3 separate regions of the Homo sapiens genome follow, and regions 2 and 3 are each linked to region 1. The links are contacts of gene promoters, found by promoter capture Hi-C in human tissues and cell types (Jung and others, 2019). All regions are on one chromosome and are shown on one strand. Each heading gives the region's core, a stretch centred on a gene start or on the middle of the fragment in contact. The rest is flanking DNA. Distances are from core to core; before and after follow the strand shown. Region 1 holds the start of CCDC179 (coiled-coil domain containing 179). Region 2 has its middle 130 kb from the start of LINC02726. Region 3 overlaps LUZP2 (leucine zipper protein 2).

Evidence for each region. The method cuts DNA at HindIII sites, captures the fragments that hold promoters and counts their contacts. A contact is called where the count stands out against the background at its distance.
Region 2: a contact is called between a fragment that was not itself captured here and the fragment with the promoter of CCDC179 in region 1, in 1 of the 25 tissues and cell types used here (heart right ventricle).
Region 3: a fragment that was not itself captured here is called in contact with the fragment with the promoter of CCDC179 in region 1 in 1 of the 25 tissues and cell types used here (mesendoderm cells).

Annotation. Positions count from the first base shown.
Region 1 is chr11:22,858,546-22,861,771 of GRCh38, forward strand. It overlaps CCDC179 (coiled-coil domain containing 179), which reads right to left and starts at 1,929. Exons shown (of 4, transcript NM_001195637.2): 1 at 1,832-1,929; 2 at 907-951. The coding sequence starts at 1,876. The region is part of intron 3 of LINC02718 (long intergenic non-protein coding RNA 2718); the gene reads left to right. The HindIII fragment of the contact is 9,229 bases long and covers 1-3,226 here.
Region 2 is chr11:23,860,239-23,863,420 of GRCh38, forward strand. No RefSeq gene overlaps it. Among named protein-coding and RNA genes, the nearest start is that of LINC02726, 130 kb to the left of the region's middle. The HindIII fragment of the contact is 4,922 bases long and covers 1-3,182 here.
Region 3 is chr11:24,539,967-24,543,238 of GRCh38, forward strand. The region is part of intron 1 of LUZP2 (leucine zipper protein 2); the gene reads left to right. Among named protein-coding and RNA genes, the nearest start is that of LUZP2, 45 kb to the left of the region's middle. The HindIII fragment of the contact is 5,551 bases long and covers 1-3,272 here.

The sequences.
Region 1 (3,226 bases), core at 679-3,178:
TTTTATCCACTTCCAGTGAAGTATCAATTGGTACAATTGCTTTGAAAACCAACTTTTTAAAAAATCCACTGATAACAGAATATAAACTTGAACAATTGCTTTGAAAACAGTGTGGCACTACTTTCTAACAATAAAAAATTTGCTTTTCCTATGATTCAACCATTACACTCCTGCCTAAATAATCAAATGGCATTCTTGTGCATGGGGCAAGAAGATGTGTACTAGAATGTTTGCAATAGTACTATTCATTTTAGGAAAATGTAAAAATAACACAATGTCCATAAACAAGAGAAAGGATTAATGAACTGTGATATGTTCCATGACAAAATATTGAACAGCAGTGAAAATAAAGAAACTATATACAGCAATGTAGATAAATCTTAGGAAATAATATTGAGAAAAAAGAGTAAATCATACACTAAATTTTGTGTGATCCTATGTTTATAAAGTTCAAAACCAAGCAAAAGCAAATAGTGCACTTATAGAGACACCTATGTAACAAACTATTAAAGAAGAGGAAGAGATTGATGTAGCTAAAATTCAAGATGGAGGTCACCTCTGGGAGAGACCTTAGGAGGTAGAATAGAAAAGCATTCCCTAGCTGGATTCAGAAATACCTAATATTTTAATCCTTAAATGGGAGGCATATTGTAATTTATAAATTATATCTGCCACATCTATTTTTGTATATGTGTCAAATGTTACATTAAAAAATAACATAAGCCATTTAGTTTACCCTAGTTAAGACCCATTCCAATAGTAGTCATTAGATCCCAGAGTCCCAAGAAATATACTGAAGTGTCTACTTAATACAAGTTCTATTATGTTAGGGACCACTACATAAAGGAACAAGTTACAAGCACAATGTTTAAACAACCAGAACCTAGTTCTTTATTTAAACATTACCTGCCGCTCAGTGACCTCTGAAGGATGATGTTGTCTTGGTCCTTCCTATATAATAAACAAAATTAAAACACATTCACACAAAAAAGTCATTAAAAACAGTAAATTAATTATTATAATAGGAAGCCTATGCTACTTTTAAATTTATGTATTATATGAATCATTTCAACTATAAGAAGCAGGTTAAAAAAACAAAAAGAAAAAAGTCAAGTTCAGAATAAAAACATCTAAGATAAAAATTGTGGTGGAAGATGGAGACGATATTATGATAAAAAAGAACCAGCTGTGAACCACCTTACAGATAAAAGGCAGAGTATAGAGATATATTCGGGAGGGAAAGAATGTACGAGAAATCGAAAAATGCATGTTTCTGCTTCTACAGGACTTCAGTGGTGCTATTGAGCAATCTAGTCTTCAATCTGGTTTCAAAGCCTAGGAGTAATTGGTGATGTGATTGAGATCGTATGGTTTTCTGAAGCACAGGGAGCTTGGCTGTTAGTTTTCGAGATTCTCACCACTTCCTCTATTTCTTGATTGTACCTTAAATAACTCCTCCTTCACTCGTTTTGATCCAATCTTTTAACCAGAAGACCCAAGAGCAATCTGTTCCACATCTGGCAATTGAGAACTTTATCCTGCTCCCTACTTCTGTAATTTCCACTCCACCTCCTAGGGCAGGCCAATGGGGCAGTCAACATACAGGTGATGTACCTGACCCCTAAGCACACAGTGGGTGGAGCTTTTTCTTGTTTCAGAGGGGTCCAGCAGTCAGGATGTAGTCTGTCTACATCACCTGGAATTTCCCAACCCCCAGCACCAAACCACATTTACAAGAGTTAGAAGCACCATGGCCAAGGCCACAGTGGCCTGGAGCTCAAGGCACAGGACAGAGTGGCAGAGTTGAGGTTGTAGGCCCCAGCAGACTCACAGGGTTGACTTGGGAAGGCTCGATGTCCCAGCAATACAGGCACATGCCGTGGAGCCTTAGGGCGCCCCCTGACGCCTACTGCCTGTCCTGGACCAAATGATTATGGGGCCCCACACCCACAGCCTTCAAGCCCTGCCCCACCCAGTTCCATCACTATTCTCTTTATTCTTCTCCCTGCTATGGGCCCCACCCTTTCCCCAGTTGTATTCCAGTCCAGTGCAGGGAAGGCAAGGCCTCAAGTTGTCTGCAGTGTCTTTGAGTTATGGAAGTCAGTTTACCATAATTCCTTATATCCTATCCTTCTTCCTCAGAAAATTGCAGAATACCAATTTCCCACCTTTTCTACCCTTCATCTCTCTAGTCTCTCTCTTTATAAAGCCCCTTTCATTTGTTAACATATCTAGCTTAGTCTCCATGTTCTCTTACTTCAGACTGTCTATCTATTGTTAGGGTTCTCAATTCCACCACCTCATTGTTGTTCCTTCACAGCTTCTAGTTGGGCTGACCCAACTGTCTGCCTTCTTCCCATCTATCTATACCAGATGAAGTGAGGAGAAGCTTGAAGATGGCTGGAATACATATTTGTGACCCCAGATCTATTTATTTATTTATTTTCTTTTTTCTTTTTTTTTTTGGCCAAGTCTCTCTGTCGCCCAGGCTGGAGTGCAGTGCTACAATCTTAGCTCACTGCTACCTCCACCTCACTGCTACCTACACCTCGAGGGTTCAAGCAATTCTCCCATCTCAGCCTCCCGAGTAGCTGGGACTGCAGGCGCATGCCACAATGCCTGGCTAATGATTTTGTAGTTTTAGTAGAGACAGGGTTTTACCATATTGGAGGCTGTTCTCAAACTCCTGACCTCAGGTGATCCACCCGTCTTGCCCTCCCAAAGTGCTGAAATTACAGGCGTGAGCCACCAGGCCCGGCCGTGACCCCCAATTTAAACTGGGTCCTCAAAGCTGCTTAAGACTTTTATGTTGCACCAGCTTTTTTTGTGCTCTGCAGTATTCCCTTCAAATTGTCTTCTATTAAAATCTCTGAATCCACCAACACTCAGGCACTTCCAGTAGAAGTGGGACAATCCGTGCTTCACACTCTGATGCTGGTGAACATGTATAGAGCTTACTATGCTCAGCACTGTTACATGAATTTATATGTGTTAACTGATCAAGTCTTTAGACCACTCAAGGTGGGTAAGGGCATGATTATAATCACTGGGAAACAAGGCGCTAGCATGTTAAATTGCTTTCTTGAAGTTACGCTATTAGTAAGAGGGTGAGCTGGAATTTAAATCCAGGGTTGGCCCTTAGATCATGTGCTCCTAATTATGTGCTATGCTACCATTGCTTTTGAAGCCCTCACTGGGGCTACCTCAATACCACCTAAAATCCTAT
Region 2 (3,182 bases), core at 267-2,766, 1.0 Mb after region 1:
TAAAATTTGAATAATTTGTTAATGAAGTTAGACCAGATATTCTGATTGACAAACTAATTAAATAGAACTGTGTCTTAGAATTGTAAAATCCCGCTCATCTACTTCAGCAAATGTCTTTATTTTTAAAATGAATCTAATCATTTTCTCTGATAAAATGAAATATGCAAATGATTTATAAAGAATCCAGAACCAAACAAATTATAAATAATATTATTTAATAGAAGAGCTTTGTCACATGTAATCATTGTCCAAAGGCCAATGTAAAATGCTTATTTAAATGTAGACTTTGAAGTGAAACCGCCCTTGTTTTGAGTCTTCTAGGTGATCTTGTATAAACTACCTTGCCAATTAAACCAATTGTTTTCATATTTAAGATGGGGCTAATACCTCAAATCAAATGATCGTTGAGTAAAAAAATGATGCCAAAACAACATAGTATTTGGCACGTAAGAATATCCTTGTTGTATATACATTATTGACTGACTAAATAAAAGTTATTTCTCCAATCTTGTTAAAATCTACAAGACTAAGAATTGACTGTTAGATTTCTAAATTACACACATATTATATATTCTTAAATTATGAACTTTTCTTATAAAGGTTAAACCACTTTACCATATTAAATTGCTCTCTGTCTTTTGTGACCAAATTAATTCTTCATTTAAGATTCTTTTTTCAAAGAAATTTACAACAAAGACTCTAATTGGCCTCCATGGATGCTGTTTTCATTGCAGGAATAGTTCAATGGGTACACAACAGAGGCTTCTATTGTTTGTCTATGCTTCATTTTGTTTAGGTTTTATTTTTGTGGGGTTTTTTTGGTTTGTTTTTGGGGGGTTTTTGTTTGTTTCTTTGGTATAGATCAGTGTAAGAAGAGCCACATTTCCTGAACTTTAGATTCATCTTATTATACTTTTTTTTTTTGCAAATCTTAGTGACTATTAAAGGTCTTTAATGTCATTAATGACTGTAAGACATCACAGAAATTGAAAATTAGTGAAGAATTATTGCTTCAATTCAGCTTTCAAAAAATACGTGACAAGCTTTTCTCCCCTTTTAGTTATCAGAAACACACACACACACACACACACACACACACACACACATTCCATTTTGTATACACAAAGTTTATTGATAGACAAAATATGTTGTAGGGGGATGGGTTCTTTTTTTTTTTTTTTTTTTTTTTGAGACGGAGTTTCGCCTTTGTTGCCCAGGCTGGAGTGCGATCACACAATCTCGGCTCACCGCAACCTCCGCCTCCCGGGTTCAAGCAATTCTCCTGCCTCAGCCTCCTGAGTGGCTGGGATTAAAGGCATGTGCCACCGCACCCAGCTAATTTTGTATTTTTAGTAGAGACGGGGTTCCTCCGTGTTGGTCAGGCTGGTCTCAAACTCCCAACTTCAGGTGATCCGCCCACCTCGGCCTCCGAAAGTTCTGGGATTACAGTCATGAGCCACCACGCCCGGCCGGGAATGGGTTCTTCAGCAAAATTATAATGTGGATCACTTGCACTTGTAATTCAAAGACGTGTCACATATTAAATATTGTGCAATTCAGTTTTGGATAAGTATTGAATTCACTCTTATACTTACATAATGCCGGGAGGAATTTATATCATTTTATATTAAAATACATAATGAGTCCAACATGTTCTTGTTTACTGAGGCAAAACTCCCACTGAAGTCTTGGGGCTCTTCGGAAGTTATTGCAAATTTACCAGTAAGAGTGTGTGGTGAAATTAGGCTCCCTAAGCAAAATGTGTTAATAATCATGATAAATGAGTTGAAATTATAATTATTTATTTAAGTTTACTTAATAAAAGCAAAACTTCAAGGAAAATAATACACAACTATTGTGTGCATTTAGGATAAGCATTTTCATTCAATCTTTTAAATAGCCGTAGGTATTGTTAGAAGCAGCTCACTAAATGACTTGGCCAAGATCAAATAATGAGTAACTTACAGAATCACAGAATTGTGATTTTTTTTCTTAAATTGTTTTTTAGAGACAAGCAGTCTGTTTGTCACTTGTTTTTTAGAGACAAACAAGCAGAGAAACAATCGTTTTCTGTCACCTAGGCTGGAGTTCAGTGGCAGGATCATAGCTCACTGCAGCCTTAAACTCCTGGGCTCAAGCAATCTTCTTGTCTCATTCTACCCGAGTAGCTGTAATTATTGTGGCTATATATGATATTTCTATGTTATTCTCTGAGCACTTTCTTCCTTATATATATTAATATATTATATTCAGAATTTTTATATTCAGAGGCAAAAAATGGAGTAAATAATTTTTTAAATGTATTTAGACATGTCTTGCCATGTTGCCCAGGATAGTCTGGGTAGAACTGTGATTTTAACTTAGAATCTTCTTTTTCAAATTTCCAGATTTATTTACTCTATTTTTGTCTCTGAATACAACATAATGTTATATGCATATAAGAAAGTGCTTAGAGAACAACACAGAAAAAAAATTGTAGTCCATCATAATTACAAATGCATAAATAGATTCTCACACTTTTAAATGAGTCATGTTGTCTTATTATCTCCTGATCTGCATGCTCTTATTTGTAGACAACTGGTCTGAGTCTTTCTTCCTGGGAAATGATTACCTTAATCATAAAGAAACCCTGCTGGATGGGCAATCTTATTTATATACCTTTTCTCCTCTGTTTCCATGGGAATCTCACCTGTCTCTCATCTCCAGAAATCCCCAAACAGTATTAGAAGCCAATTGAGTTCCTCCAACTCTGATTATTCCTCCTAAGGGCGTCTGAACCAACTATTCTTTGCTTTGAATCCCACATCTTGCCTTTGGCAAAGTCTTGTTTGTGAGAGTAGATTTATTTCTTCTGCATCTTTGACTCCGCTTTCTCTACTGACTCTTTTATCTCTTCATATGAACATATTCATTTTATTTTTTTCTCCAGCTTAAAATAAAAAAACTTTTATATTAACTTATGCTTATATTTACTTCATTCATCTCAAAATCATGCTACAGAGATCAAAGATTTTCTTCTCATACTCATATTTTTAGCACACATTCAATCACCAATTTACTTTAAGTTAGCTGTTACTGTTCTCTTGGTTTTGAAATTTTACATAACCATTAAACTCCTAATTGTTAAATTCATTGAATGTCTCATTTTCTCGAGCTCTGATGTATCTGATGCTGATGAGCAC
Region 3 (3,272 bases), core at 160-2,659, 1.7 Mb after region 1:
GTACAAAGACAACATATATATATATATTCTCATTACATGAATTCTTTAACATTTCCCTAGTTAGGGTGATGTGTATGAAAAATTTAATAGAAACCTACCATAAATCTGAAAGTTTTATTAATATTACCATATGAAACTTGCATTGTGGGGAAAAGTACACCACTTTGGATTTTCATATTTTTAAAGGAAACATAAAAGCATATCAAGGCACAAAACTAATTAAACCATGTCTCTCTTTACAATTACGACTCTTCAAATACGTTAGAAGCCCACAAGTAGGGGAGTGAAGTGTTATAGATTGAATGTTTGTTATGTCTCTCCCAAATTTACTTATTGAAACTCTATCCCTCCAATATGATGGTATTTGGAGATGGGGCCTTTGGGAGGCAATTAGGGTTAGATAAGGTCATTAGAGGGGATCCCTCATGATAGGTTTAATAACCTAATAAGAATAGACTTTGGAGAGATTGCTTGCTCTCTCTCTGTCTGTCATGTGCGGATGCAGCAAGAACCAAGACTAAGACACCTACAAGCCAGAAAGTGCCCTCTCACCTGGAACCAAATCAGCCTGCAGCTTGATCCTGGACCACCCAGCATCCAGAAGTGTGAGAAAATAAATTTCTGTTGTTTGAACCACTCAGTGTGTGGTATTTTATTATGTTAGCTTGAGCAGACTAATATAGCATGCCAACTGTCCTTTAGAAGAATCCTAAAATAATTTTTACCTTGGTACTAAGTTAACTCTGGAAAGATGGAACATGGGGGAGGATGTACTTGCAGATTAAAATTATTCAGCCACCAGCAGTATCTTTTATATGCTGATACTTATGGAATAATCGTTATGGATAATGGATGCAGTTATGACAGACTTTTAATAGAATCATATCCCTAAATAACACAAAACAAAAAAAAATTTGAAACAAAATAGACAAAACATAATTTAAATAATTGCTTAGCTATTCCAAAGATGTAAACGTGACACTTTAAGAAATGAGGTGATGGCCGGCTGGCCATGGTAGTTCACCTCTGTAATCCCAGCAGTTTGGGAGGCCAAGGCAGGTGGATCACCTGAGGCCAGGAGTTCAAGACCAGCCTGGCCAATATGGTGAAACCCCGTCTCTACTAAAAATACAAAAATTAGCCGGGCGTGGTGGTGGGCGCCTGTAATCCCAGCTACTTGGGAGGCTGAGGCAGGAGAATTGCTTGAACCCGGGAGACAGAAGTTGCAGTAAGCCAAGATTGCACCATTGCACTCCAGCCTGGGGGACAAGAGAGAGACTTCATCTCAAGGAAAAAAAAAAAAAAAAAAAAGGAGTGAGGTGATGGCATTCGCCTACAGCTTCTTCAGCCCAAAGGATTAGATATCGTATCATTGCTGGCTGCTTGAAGGAGAAATATTAAGTAAGTACATCTTAAACATAATTTGGCACTGTGTCCCTGACAGTTAACTTGGTGACTGTTGGCATCCTATATTCTATTTATAAACTTAATTTAGATCCACTGTGAGAACATCCTTGGGGCTGAGAAAAAGAAGTAGTCACTTTCTCACCTTTTACCATCTTCATTTTCAGTCTAACCTTTAGATTTAATGTGTATGGATGTTTTGTTGAATTCTCAGCTTGAGATTTCCACATGCCTGTATATTTGTCCACAAAACAATTGATTATGTTGACTACTGAAGACATGGAAACTATGCTTTGGATGCAGGTTGGGGGAAGAATATTAAGACTAAAAACAAAACTTTTATTATTCAAATGCTGCCTTATGCCACATAATCTCAGATGTCAAGTGATTACTGATAGTACACTGACAAGAATAATGATAAGAACCTAAGCTTTCAGAAAGACAAAGCATGAAGATAAGTACAGCCTAAAATTCCAAAAATTCTAAAATTAAGCAACTTTACCATCCTCAGCATAACTTCTTACTTCTATTTATATAAGAAAAAAAAAACACCTGTTAGTTTGTTGCCATAATAGGAAGTTCTGTTATTTATAATCACATATTTCTGAGACAGAATGGATTTATGTTTTCACAGAATTAATGGTATACCAAAAAGATGAATTCTTATTGAACTTAGTGTCATAAATAAGTCAGATGTCCATGCCAAAAAATGTTTCCCTAACAGTGATACTTATTGGAAGGAGAGTCTGCTAGGAAGCTAGAGATAACCTGAACATAAATTAAAATTAATAAGTGAAAGAGTGAGGACAGAGAAAATTAAAGATGAGATACAGCAAAGGAACTACAGTATTACTATCCTCACCCCCCCATACACAAACCACGTGTTCTCTTTGGTAGAAGAGAAAGTTTCTGAGTTACATTTCAGAATCATGGAGGAGCCCAGTGTACATGAGAGAATAGAACATGTATGACAGTCACTGCTGGATTTCAGAAGTCATGAGGTCATACCCACACCTGATGCTTTAGACAAGATCAGCCCTTAAGACACAAGAAAAAGGGAAAGTATGTCTTCAGGATTCTTATTTTTTTATGTAACATATACTCAACTTAGTTATTACTGAATGTTAAATCAATTTGGGGAATTTTCCAGTGTGTGAAAAAAAAAAGCTACTTCTTCCTATCATGAGGAGTGTATTGGGGCAGGGACAGTGGGGTAGATCTTTAATTTTCATAATCAATGAAACAAAATAATATGGGTGAAAACTGGGGAAAAAGTCTTTATTTGAGTGCTAGCCATAATTATACAGAAGATTTTGGCAGTATGCTAGTTTGCTAGTTTAACAATAAATGATAATCACTTTTATTCAAAAAAAATAGATGTTCTTTTATGCTTTTGAATGACTGTGTCACTTTTTTGGTGACAATCAATGCAAAAGACTACATTTATGTATCAGCGACACTTCAGAAAATAAATCTGTAGCTATGGTTTCCAAAGTATTATGGGGTTTGTTTTCTTTGAAATAATGAACAAAAAGAACAGCACACACACACACAGAAAAAAAAAAAACTAGAAAAATTTAGAATGGAATTGAAGGTGAAATGAGGACATGTGAAACACCAAGGTTTACTACAAGTAAATTAAAATAAATAAAAGAAGGAATCTTTATTACCGGTGTGTTCATAACACTTTGGGGAAAATACTATATTAAATATTCGGGGAGATTTGGTTTTATTTATTTTCAGGTGTGCATATATTTAATTGTAGGACAGATAATTATATTAGGTGGTTTCAATTTGTATATAAGAAAACTGATACTTTAGGAACCAGAAAACGTGTTTGGTTTATTTAAAATATAAATAATACATCT